Regions from separate parts of the Homo sapiens genome. Here region 1 is linked to region 2. The links are contacts of gene promoters, found by promoter capture Hi-C in human tissues and cell types (Jung and others, 2019). All regions are on one chromosome and are shown on one strand. The core of a region is centred on a gene start or on the middle of the fragment in contact, and the rest is flanking DNA. Distances in the headings are between cores, read along the strand shown.

Region 1 (6,137 bases), core at 1,726-4,225, 330 kb after region 2:
AGGACATCCTTGTCTAGTGCTGGTTTTCAAAGGGAATGCTTCCAGCTTTTGTCCATTCAGTATGATATTGGCTGTGGGTTTGTAATAAATAGCTCTTATTATTTTGAGATACGTTCCATCAATACCTAGTTTATTGAGAGTTTTTAGCATGAAGGGGTGTTGAATTTTATCCAAGGTCTTTTCTGCATCCATTGAGATAATCATGTAGTTTTTGTCATTGGTTCTGTTTATGTGATGGATTACGTTTATTGAATTGCATATGTTGAACCAGCCTTACATCCCAGGGATGAAGCTGACTTGATTGCGTTGGATAAGCTTTTTAATGTACTGCTGGATTTGGTTTGCCAGTATTTTATTGAGGATTTTCGCATTGATGTTCATCAGGGATATTGGCCTGAAATTTTTTTGTTGTTGTTGTGTCTCTCTCAGGTTTTGGTATCAGGATGATGCTGGCCTCATAAAATGAGTTAGCGGGGAGTCCCTCTTTTTCTGTTGTTTGGAATAGTTTTAGAAGGAATGGTACCAGCTCCTCTTTGTACCTCTGGTAGAATTCAGCTGTGAATTGTTGTGTTTTTAGTAGAGGTGGGGTTTCTCCATGTTGGTCAGGCTGGTCTTGAACTCCCAACCGCAGGTGATCTGCCCGCTTCAGCCTCCCAAAGTGCTGGGATTACAGACGTGAGCCACTGTATCTGGCTGTGAATCTGTCTGGTCCTGGACTTTTTTTTGGTTGGTAGTCTGGCTAGCAGTCTGCTTATTTTGTTAATCTTTTCAAAAAAACCAGCTCCTGAACTCATTGATTTTTTTAAGGGATTTTCGTGTCTCTATCTCCTTCAGTTTTGCTCTGATCTCAGTTATTTCTTGTCTTCTGCTAGCTGTTGAATTTGTTTGCTCTTGCTTTTCTAATTATTTTAATTGTGATGTTAGGGTGTTGATTTTAGATCGTTCCTGCTTTCTCCTATGGGCATTTAGTGCTATAAATTTACCTCTAAACACTGCTTTAGCTGTGTCCCAGAGATTCTGGTACATTGTGTCTTTGTTCTCTTATTGATTTCAAAGAACTTACTTATTTCTGCCTTAATTTCATATTTATCCAGGAGTCATTCATGAGCAGGTTGTTCAGTTTCCACGTAGTTGTGCAATTTTGAGTGAGTTTCTTAATCCTGAGTTCTAATTTGATTGCGCTGTGGTCTGAGAGACTGTTATGATTTCTGTTCTTTTGCATTTGCTGAGGAGTGTTTTACTTCCAATTATGTGGTCAATTTTAGAATAATTGCGATGTGTTGCTGAGAAGAATGTATATCCTGTTGATTTGGGGTGGAAAGTTCTGTAGATGTCTATTAGGTCTGCTTGGTCCAGAGCTGAGTTCAAGTCCTGAATATCCATGTTAATTTTCTGTCTCGTTGATCTGTCTAATGTTGACAGTGGGGTGTTAAAGTCTCCCACTGTTATTGTGTGGGAGTCTAAGTCTCTTTGTAGGTCTCTAAGAACTTGCTTTATGAATCTGGGTGCTACTGCATTGGGTGCATATATGTTTAGGATAGTTAGCTCTTCTTGTTACATTGATCCCTTTACCATTATGTAATGCCCTTCTTTGTCTCTTTTCATCTTTGTTGGTTTAAAATCTGTTTTATCGGAGACTGGGATTGCAACCCCTGCTTTTTTTTCTTCTTTCTTTCTTTCTTTCTTTTCTTTCTTTCCTTTCTTTTTTGTTTGGTAAATCTTCCTCCATGTCTTTATTTTGAGCCGTTGTGTGTCTTTGCACATGGGATGGGTCTCCTGAATAGAGCACACTGATGGGTCTTGACTCTTTATCCAATTTGCCAGTCTGTGTCTTTTAATTGGGGCATTTATTTTGATCCTGTCATAATGATGCTAGCTGGTTATTTTGCCCATTAGTTGATACAGGTTCTTCAAGTGTCAGTGGTCTTTACATTTTGGTATGCTTTTGCAGTGCCTGGTACCGGTTTTTCCTTTCCATATTCAGTGCTTCCTTCAGGAGCTCTTGTAAGGCAGGCCTGGTGGTGACAGAATTCCTCAGCATTTGCTTGTCTGTAAAGGATTTTATTTCTCCTTCACTTATGAAGCTTAATTTAGCTGGATATGAAATTCTGGGTTGAAAATTCTTTAAGAATGTTGAATGTTGGCCCCCACTCTGTTCTGGCTTGTAGGGTTTCTGCAGAGAGATCTGCCGTTATTCTGATGGACTTCCCTTTGTAACCTGACCTTTCTCTCTGGCTGCCCTTAACATTTTTTCCTTCATTTCAACCTTGGTGAATCTGATGATTATGTGTCTTGGGGTTGCTCTTCTCGAGGAGTATCTTGTGTTTTTCTTTGTATTTCCTGAATTTGAGTGTTGGCGTTTCTTGCTAGGTTGGGGAAGTTCTCCTGGATAATATCCTGAAGAGTGTTTTCCAACTTGGTTCCATTCTTCTTGTCAGTTTTAGTTTCACCAATCAAATGTAGGTTTGGTCTTTTCACATAGTCCCATATTTCTAAGAGGCTTTGTTTGTTCCTTTTATTCTTTTTTCTCTAACCTTGTCTTCATGTTTTATTTCATTAAGTTGATCTTCAGTCTCTGATATCCTTTCTTCCGCTTGATCAATTCAGCTATTGATACTTGTGTATGCTTCCCGAAGTTCTTGTGCTGTGTTTTTCAGCTCCATCAGGTCATTTATGTTCTTCTCTAAACTGGTTATTCTAGTTAGCAGTTCCTGTAACCTTTTATCAAGGTTCTTAGCTTCCTTGTGTTGGGTTAGAATATGCTCCTTTAGCTCGGAGGACTTTGTTATTACCCACCTTCTGAAGCCTACTTCTGTCAATTTGTCAAACTCATTCTCCATCCAGTTTTGTTCCCTTGCTGGCATGAAGTTGGGATTCTTTGGAGGAACAGAGGTGTTCTGTTATTTGGAATTTTCAGCCTTTTTGCACTGTTTTTTCCTCATCTTTGTGGATTTATCTACCTTTAGTGTTTGATTTTGGTAACCTTTGAATGGCGTTTTTGCGTGGTTATCCTCTTTGTTGATGTTGATGCTGTTGCTTTCTGTTTGTTATTTTTCCTTCTAGCAGGACCCTCTTCTGAAGTTCTGCTGGAGTTTGCTGGAGGTCTACTCCAGACCCTGTTTGCCTGGGTATCACCAGTGGAGGCTGCAGAACAGCAAAGATTGCTGCCTGTTCCTTCCTCTGGAAGCTTCATCCCAGAGGGGCACCATCAGATGCCAGCTGGAGCTCTCCTGTATGAGGTGTCTGTCAACCCCTGCCATCAGGAGGCATTGGGGTCAGGCACCCACTTGAGGAGGCAGTCTGTTCCTTAGCAGAGCTTGAGCGCTGTGCTGGGCGATCCGCTGCTCTCTTCAGAGCCAGCAGGCAGGAATGTTTAAGTCTGCTGAAGCTGTGCCCACAACTGCCCCTTTCCCCTGGTGCTCTGTCCTAGGGAGATGGGAGTTTTATCAATAAGCCCCTGACTGGGGTTGTGGCCTTTCTTTCAGAGATGCCCTGCCCAGAGAGGAGGAATCTAGGAAGGCAGTCTGGCTACAGTGGCCTTGCCAAGCTGTGGTGGGTTCCACCCAGTTCGAACTTCCCACTGGGTTTGTTTACACTGTGAGGGGAAAACCACCTACTCAGGCCTCAGTAATGGATGACGCACCTCCCTTCACCAAGCTGGAGTGTCCCAGGTCAACTTCAGACTGCTCTGCCAGCAGCGAGAATTTCAAGCCAGTGGATCTTAGCTTGCTGGGCTCCGTGGGCGTGGGATCCGCTGAGCCAGACCACTCAGCTCCCTGGCTTCAGCCCCGTTTCCCAGGGAATGAACGGTTCTGTCTCTCTGGCGTTCAGGCACCACTGGGGTATGAAAAAAAACTCCTGCAGCTAGCTCAGTGTCTGCCCAAATGGCCGCCCAGTTTTGTGCTTGAAACCCAGGGCCCTGGTTGTGTAGGCACCCCGTGAAATCTCCTGGTCTCCAGGTTGTGAAGACAGTGGGAAAAGCGTAATATCTAGGCTGGATAGCACCATCCCTCACCAACGGCACAGTCCCTCACGGCTTCCCTTGGCTAGGGGAGGGAGTTCCCAGACCCCTTGTGCTTCCCAGGTGAGGTGACACCCCACCCTGCTTCTCCTAGCCTTTCGTGGCCTGCACCCACTTTCTAATCAGTCCCAGTGAGGTGAGCCGGGTACCTCAGTTGGAAATGCAGAAATCACCTGCCTTCTGCCTTGGTCTCACTGGGAGCTGCAGCCATCTTACCCGGGAATCCCCGAAGCCGTTATTCTTAACGAGTGTGACACACACCAGTTTTGAGCAGTAGCAAAAGGAACAACGTGCATGTTGGAGACTCAGATCAGAACTTGAAAGTCATTGGAAAATGGAAGAAAGGACAATATGAATGGGGATTTCAGTTGAAGAAACTTTTAAAAGCAGTAGTGGCATGCATCTGGTTGATGTAGAAAGAAAAGAGTTCAGACAAGGGTGACTAATGAGAGATAGTAAAGGAAAGTGGAATGTATGAGTCATGCAGTGGAGAGGTTTCCTTTTGGCAACTACACTTGCTTTAAGCACAAAAAAAGAGAATAGCTTGCTGAAGACATTATTATAGCATTAATATATGAGTCTGAGGAGAATTTTTTCCCATTTGACTTGCTTTCTATTTATTATCTTTTTCTTTTCTAGATGATTCCATGTCCAAGTATTTCAGATGCCACTTTCTTATTCTCATTTGACTGTTATTTCTTAGGTATATTTTCTGGATTAAAATAGAGTAGTTTTTAGTTTACATTTGTTTTTGTTAATCTCCATAATTTGTTTATATGTGGTCATGGTGCTATTCTCTGGTTCAGAATTGAGGTACTAAAAGAAGTAGGTTTTAATTAGCATGTTAAATTTTGGTAATATTGAAAGGTTCCATTTATTAGGTATGGGATTTTACTGTAAGAAGTTAGCCTTCTTCAAGATTTTTCTACTAGTACTCCTTTCACTTTTTAAACCAACTTTAATATACTGCTATAAATTCATTATTTTTCTCCTTCTAGTCTCCCCTCCCCGTCTCTCTTGTGAGAAAATAATTTGAAATCAGATAAGGTCTTTCTCCTGAAGGAACTGACAATTTAGTATCTAATACAGTAAGTGCCATGCAAGAGCAGGAAAGCAAGGAACATTAAATTCTGTGGCACAGAGGACAGACATTCCATTAAGATACGAAGAGATATTTCAGCTGATCCTTGAAGGCTTGTGACAGAGCTTGGAAAGGCACTCTAGACAGAGGAACAGCCTGAGGAAGGCATAGAGCAACCCAGGTCATTCAGTGAGCTGTAGCCTAAACAAGGGGAAGCCTCCTACAGATTTCACTGTACCTCCTGTAGACAAACATGAGTCAGGGTGATTGCTTCTAAAAGAGGAGTTATAGTTTTAACCTGCGACTAGTGGGCAGCTAGTGTCACAGTAAGACTAAGAAGGAAGGACATAAAAAAAATTCTGCAGAGTGGAGGCAAAGCTGGAGTACAACATGAGGGAAAAAGCCACATATACACCTATAGCTCTCCACCTTTGAGAAAACTTGCTAGAGGGAACTCCACGTTCCATAGATGACCCCACTTGCTCATTGCTGGCTGTTTTTCTCTCAGTTTTTAATGTTTTATTATGCAGCTATCCATTGATCCTTTTAGTAATAGATGTATTTATTGAACTTGTGCCATGTACCAGGTACTGTTCTATGTTCTGTATATTTTCCAGCTTATTTAATAGCTTTCTTATGATTTTTACTTTAATGGTCTTGGTAACTTCCCTATGTTGCATAGATCACAACTATTACACAGCCACCTCCAGCTGCAGGGTAAGCTGGGAAAGTGAGTATTTAGCCTTTCTTGCCTTGATAGTGGAGGCCGGCCACAAAAATGGAAGTTAGAAATGAGTATGTCTGCTGCAAAATCACTTTTCTTACTTGCTTCCTTTGTTTATTTCTACCCCCTTTCATTTCTTTCTCGTTGTAAAACTAAGTTGTTAGTTTTCTCTGAAGAAACTAAAATTCTTTAAAGATTAAGAATCTTCACTATTGTATTTGACATATATATTAAAGTTCATGAAGAATAAATTACAGCTTGGGTTTTAAATTTTACTTGTATAGATTAACATCAAATTTTAACATTATAAA
Region 2 (6,319 bases), core at 958-3,457:
ACAGAGGTAACACTATTTTCTAAAAACAGAAGCACTGTGTCAAAGAGTATATGTGTTTGTAATCTTGATAATTGAAATTTTTTGAGTTTTGTATTATAATTATATCTTTCTTCCTCTACAGTTATAAAAGAATCCCTTTTTGGCTTCTTGTAATACTTTTTGGTTTTTTTTTAACATTTACATCTTTGATTCATATGGAATTTTTTTGGAGTACAGTGTGAAATATGGATTCAACTAAACTATTTTCTACATACATCCTTCATCATCCCAATATCATTTTTTGAAAAATCCCATCATTTCCTCGCTGGTTTGAGATGCCACCTCTGTAATACACTAAATTCCCATATGTATGTGATTCTATTTTGGGGGTTTTTATGCTGTTTATTGATCTGTCACTTTATGTGCCAGTATCATATTTAAAATATTTTATATCAGAAAATATTTTAATATCCTATAGGTCATTACCTCCTTATTGTTCTTATTTTTCAGACTTTTCCTAATTGCTCTTATTTATTTTACGATATAAACTTTGGAATCAGTTGTCTAGTTCAACAGAAAGTCTTGCTGGTACTTTTTTTTTTTTTTTTTTTTTTGAGATAGAGTCTCACTCTGTCGCCCAGGCTGGAGTGCAGTGGAGTCATTTTGGCTCATAGCAACCTCTGCCTGTTTCTCATTACAACCAAAAACTCCGAATGAATATTTTTTAAAAACTACTCGAGAACCTTGAAAAGTAAACAATAGCAGGTAGATTGGGGACTGAAGTTGAAATCTTAATAACAACCCATTTATTGACGAGTTTCAGTTTGTTTTCGGTTTTTTGGTTCTTTTTTGTCTTTCAGCTTTGAACCATCCAGTGGGCACAGACAGTAAACCTATTTTTATCCAGAAGACCAAGGAAAATGACCCCTGCATGCCAGAAGGTATAGGACAAAGCCCAGGGCTTTATGTTGCTTTCTCTCTCACCTCCCAGCCCTGCCCCAAGGCTGGCCCTAGCCTCAGAGCAGACACCAACCATGGCAACTGGGGAACATAAAACTCAAGAGAAAGTGTCTACCAGAGGAACTGGGAAAAGGGATCGGTATTGCCTGAAAAGTGTGGACAGAATCCCCCTTTTTTCTCTCTTTTCTTAACTCTGTGCTAAAGGCTGTCCCCCTTGTAAGGAACTGCTGTATAGTGAAAAGGCTAACACTCAAAGAAACCTGTCTTTCTGATCATATGAACTGGCAAGTGGGTATGATGAGGAAAGGGGGCAGGAGAATCCTGGAGAAGAGAGAGAGGGAAAGGAGAATGACCTAATTCTGTGTACGATCCAACTTAAGTCCCAGACACAGCCCTGAGCACATATGAAGCAGACCTAGTGGCCTCATCCCTGCCCTCTTTTCCCTGTGTCTAGCACAGAGAATATGTTAGAGAAAGGTTTCGATAACCTGAAATACCGACTTTTTTGGATTCGTATAAAACTATTCGTTTCCAGTTTGGCAGGGACCAGTTTCCCCATCACACATTCTTTTCTTGAGAGAAACTGTTACCCATTTTCCTAGAACTGAGCTACGAGTCTCTTGAAGCAAAATGAAGTCTCCTGAAACAAAATGCAGTTAAGTTCAGACCCAAGATCTTTTTTGCTTGTGCAAAAAGACTTAAAGCCCCCAAAAGGAAAGCCTTTTGAAAAATGCTATAAAGCCACCTAGTACAAACCTCATTTTATCCCTAGCTGGTTGGGGGTAGGTGGGAACAGACTGTGTTTGCTTATTTACAAGCTCTCAGCTCAGGCACGGCTGCCCCACAAGGCTCTGATCCTGCCCACAAGCACATGTTCTGGTCACGATCTCCACTCAAAACTCTGACCCCCTCAGAGGGCACCTGGGCCGCCCTGGCGCGAGGGTTCAGGCACTGTGGCCCTAATGATGGTCACCTTCTCCAGGGCAGCTCCTTTTCTTCCAGGTCGCTCTCCGTCACTGAACCCTCTATCACAGTTTCATCACTGTCCCAGTCTGGGGCCTGGACGCCTTCCTCCATCTTTGCCTCACATTCAAAGTCTTTTTTACCCTCCTCTAACTCCCTCTTGCCCGCAAACAAAAAAACGCTTTGAGGGCCAGGGGAAATTGTGAATTAAAAATAAAAATAATATAATCGCAGCAGGAGCCGGGACTTGTCGCAGGGCTGCTGAGGAGGACGCAGGCGGCCGCGAGCGCGGCGGGGTAGCAGTCTGCGAGGCGGCCCGCGGGTCCCGCCGCTCGTCGCAGACAGGGGGCAGCCGCTCGCCACACGACGGAGCCCTGCGCAGCGCTCGGCCCCGCCCCCAGCTCCCGTGGCCGGAAGTGGGAGGCCGCGCGCGCGCGCGCAGGCCTACTCTGGGCGTGGCCTGCCGCTGCGTGTTTTTTTCACGGTTTCTCATTCTCGGTCGCTAGGCTTTGAGGGTGCTGGGGTTGCTGCTGCAGAGACCAGAAAGGCAGGCGTGGCGCACCCAGAACTCAGACCGAGCCTGCTTAACACCCTTGGCCGGGAGGGTGACCTGCCATGCACCTGATGCTTGTGAGCCCCAGATACGGGAAGAGCTGTCAGCTCCTGCCCGCCCCAGCAGCCCTGGCATTCTGGAGCCAGAATGCGACCTTAGACCTAAAGAGAGTTTTTGCAGCCCACCAAGTGCTTCCTTTCCCTTTAATCCCTTGACAGCCTCTCCTCAAGTGTCCTCTGAGGTAGACAAAACAGATACGTTTATCAGAAGTTTTAGCTCATCAACTAATCTCAGTGATGTATTTTGCATTTTTTTTTTCTCTCAACAACGCTTTGGTTACCTGAAATACAGATTATGCAGGAAAGGCAGGATAAATGCTTTATTTTTTCCTCTTTTATCAATTTTTATAATAATAGTAATGCCTAGCAACCTCCAAAAGTAGTCAATTGCGTTTTAATGAAGTACTAGAATTTTATATATTTGATGTGTTTCAGTCTAGTTGAACATTTTTAATTCAAACTAATTCAAAACAAAGCCAAGTGAGCTTCCACTTGCCAAGTGAGAAGAAGATTCAAGAAAAGACCAAGTTGTTTTCCCATAGCAAGTGTTTAGTATTCACCTTGGAGTCTCCAGCATCTAGCACATATAAAGTCTAAGTTTTGTCATAAATGGATGGAGCTAGAGATTTCTGACTTCCCAATTCATTGCCCTTTTCACTATATGGAGTAGCTTTGCCATTATTATCATTATTATTATTTTGTGTTTTTACTATGTATATTCAAGCCACTGCTATTTAAAATGCTTGATTGGTGATTATCTTCTAAACTTAACTTGAGGCTGGGGGTGGTGGCTCTACCTGTAACCTCAATGCATTGGAGGCCGAGGCAGGAGGATTGCTTGAGACCAGAAGTTCAAGACCAGCCTGGGCAACATGGTGAGACCCCTATCTCTGCAAAAAATTTGTTTTTAATTAGCAGGGCATGGTAGCATGGGCCTGTAGTCCCAGCTACTCAGGTTGAGGCGGGAGGATCGCTTGAGCCCAGGAGTTTGAGGTTATAATGAGCTATGATTGAGCAAACGCACTCCAGCCTGAGCAACAGAGTCATACCATGTCTCAAAAAATAAAAAAATAAACTTACTTGAATAAGTAACTTACTTAAATAAAATTCCTCGCCTCAACTCTGTAAATTAGGCAGAGCAATAATAAATATGCAAAGAACTAGACCTCTTTTTTATTTTTTTTAACAGTAGTCCATTTATACCCTCCGTGTCTAAATCAGACCTAAATTCCTATCACCTTTCCTGCTCACCCACTGTTTAATTAATTCATTAGCGCATTCTTCTGTGTTGCCCAAGCTAATCTCCAACTCCTGGGCTCAAGCTGTCCTCCCACCTCACCCTCCCAAATAGCCGGAACTACAATCTCATGCCACTATGCCCACTTCACCCATTCTTTTAATTATCCAACTCTGCTTTCACAGGAATTGGGGGATGCATACCCAGTAAATGGTGGTGAGTGGCTCCATTTGCCCCAGAGGGAAAGATGACTCCACTAGTAACAGTACTTGCTCCAAACAGCTGGTAACAAGCTAAGTGCAATAAGTCCTCACTTAATGTCTGTCGGTAGGGTCTTGGAAACTGCAACCTAAAACAAAATGACTTACAAGGAAACCAATTTTACCATTGTCTAATTGATATATATGAGAGTTAAGTTCTTACAACATATTTCTGGTCACAAAAACATTACCAAACTTGTAAATAAACACCAAAACACCTTTACTATTAAACATTGAAATAAACGTGAGCTATATATATATTTATTAAATATATATATTTAAGAAATATCTTAAATATATATCAGATATTTATTAAATATATATTTAATAATAAATATTTAATATATTTAATAAATATCTAAGATATATATTTAAGATATTTCTTAATATATTTAATATATATAATAAATATCTAAGATATATATTTAAGATATTTCTTAATATATTTAATATATATTTAATAAATATATATAAGAAATGTCATATATATTTAAGAAAGATTAATAAAAATATATATATTTAAGAAAGACTAATAAAAACAAATAAGATAATTATTTACCTAGTCATTCCAGTTCAGGGTTGAGAGTGGCTGGAGCCTATCCTGGCAGCTCAGGGCTCAAGGCAGGAGCCAACCCAGCACAGGAGGCCATTTCATTGAAGAGCGTGCTCACTCACACACACACACTCATTCTGAGACCAGTTAGATAAGTCAATGAGCCTAACATACACATCTTTGGGATGTGAGAGGAAACCAGAATACCTGGAGGAAACATGCTGACATAGGGAGAACATGCAAACTCCACATACACAGTGGCCCTGGCTGGGAAGTATAATAATTTTCTTCCCTCATCAGTGTTGAAACACCATTGAAATAAATGTTATTCGAGGATCTGCTATAGATAAATTCACATTCTTCTGGGCCTGAAATTCACATTCTTTTTAAAAATGCTTTCTCTTTTGGCGGGAAAAAGTCAGTTATTTTTGCATCATCTGTTCTCCTTTTATTTAAGAGAGTTGCTAAGATTCAAAGAATGAAAAAGAAATGGCAGAGATGAGCCTCATAAATGCCAGTGTGATTTTAAATAAACCTTTTTTTGTTTGTTTTTATGAAATCCAAAGTTTCAGTGCAGGACAGAGGTGGAAAAATGAACAGAAGATCTGTTTTAGGAAATCTAGGCTGCAGTACAATTCATACTGGTTTAAGCAGGGTGAGTTGAGTCATGTAATTGAACCAAGGAGAGGTTTCCCAGGTATTTCAGGAATGGCAGGAATCAGGTACTGCAACTGTGTTTCAAAGGAAATAGAGCTCAGCTTTCTTTTGAATTAGTTTGAATTTTCAAATAGATTAAAACATCGCCGAGTATGTAAAAATCTGTAAACATTATTATTAAAAAATAATAATTGGCTACTTTTGGAGGTTGCTAGACACCATTTATTATTCTAAAATTAATAACGATAAAAAGACTTTATCCTGCCTCTCCTATACACTTTATATTCAGAATAACCATAGTTAATGAGGGGGAAAAAAAATTTTTTTTTGAGACGGAGTTTCGCTCTTGTCGTCCAGGCTGGAGTGCTATGGCGCGATCTTGGCTCGCTGCAACCTCCCACCTCCCGGGTTCAAGTGATTCTCCTGCCTCAGCCTCCCAAGGAGCTGGGATTACAGATATGTGCCACCTCACCCGGCTAATTTTGTATTTTTAGTAGAGACGGGGTTTCTCCATGTTGGTCAGGCTGGCCTCGAACTCCTGACCTCAGGTGATTCACCCACCTCGGCCTCCCATAGTGCTGGGATTACAAGCTTCAGCCACCACGCCTGGCCATAATTTTTAAGAAATGTAATTAAATTTTACTTGGTCTACTCCATTTGGGCTATAATCTTACAAGAAAAATGTCCTCTTGGGGAATTATTGTTGTAAAGGTGAATTTAAAATTTTTTTTTGATGTTTAAAAAGAAAAAGAAGGCTCATTATTTTGTGATTACACAATATATTTTGCTTTTATAATTAAGATTCTTCGCTGCCTATAGCTTCATATTATTTATTTCCTATCCAGGTTACTTTGGATCCTAGAACTGTAAGAGATGAGACTTTCATGGAAGATTTGATTTATCATAACACAATATGAATCTCTAAGAGACTAAATCCAGCAGCCACTTTCACCTTAGTAATATTTCTCCCCAAAATAAAACTATATGAAGTATTTCACCAAGTATTCCATGATAAGTATTTTAAAATACACTTTCCCGACAGGGCACAATGGTTCATGTTTGTAATCCCAGCACTTCGGGAGGCAGAGATGGGAGGAT

Evidence for each region. The method cuts DNA at HindIII sites, captures the fragments that hold promoters and counts their contacts. A contact is called where the count stands out against the background at its distance.
Region 1: a contact is called between a fragment that was not itself captured here and the fragment with the promoter of ANKRD31 in region 2, in 1 of the 25 tissues and cell types used here (spleen).

What each region holds. Positions count from the first base shown.
Region 1 is chr5:75,562,567-75,568,703 of GRCh38, forward strand. All of the region lies in intron 3 of POLK (DNA polymerase kappa), which reads left to right. Among named protein-coding and RNA genes, the nearest start is that of ANKDD1B, 46 kb to the right of the region's middle. RefSeq lists enhancers at 3,014-4,213, 4,168-4,387, 4,408-4,487. The HindIII fragment of the contact is 3,553 bases long and covers 1,200-4,752 here.
Region 2 is chr5:75,234,671-75,240,989 of GRCh38, forward strand. ANKRD31 (ankyrin repeat domain 31) reads right to left here and starts at 2,208. Exons shown (of 26, transcript NM_001372053.1): 1 at 1,913-2,208. The coding sequence starts at 2,016. LOC124901006 (a long non-coding RNA gene) reads left to right here and starts at 2,368. Exons shown (of 2, transcript XR_007058823.1): 1 at 2,368-2,696; 2 at 6,067-6,218. RefSeq lists an enhancer at 1,929-2,098 and a silencer at 2,149-2,448. The HindIII fragment of the contact is 20,855 bases long and covers 1-6,319 here.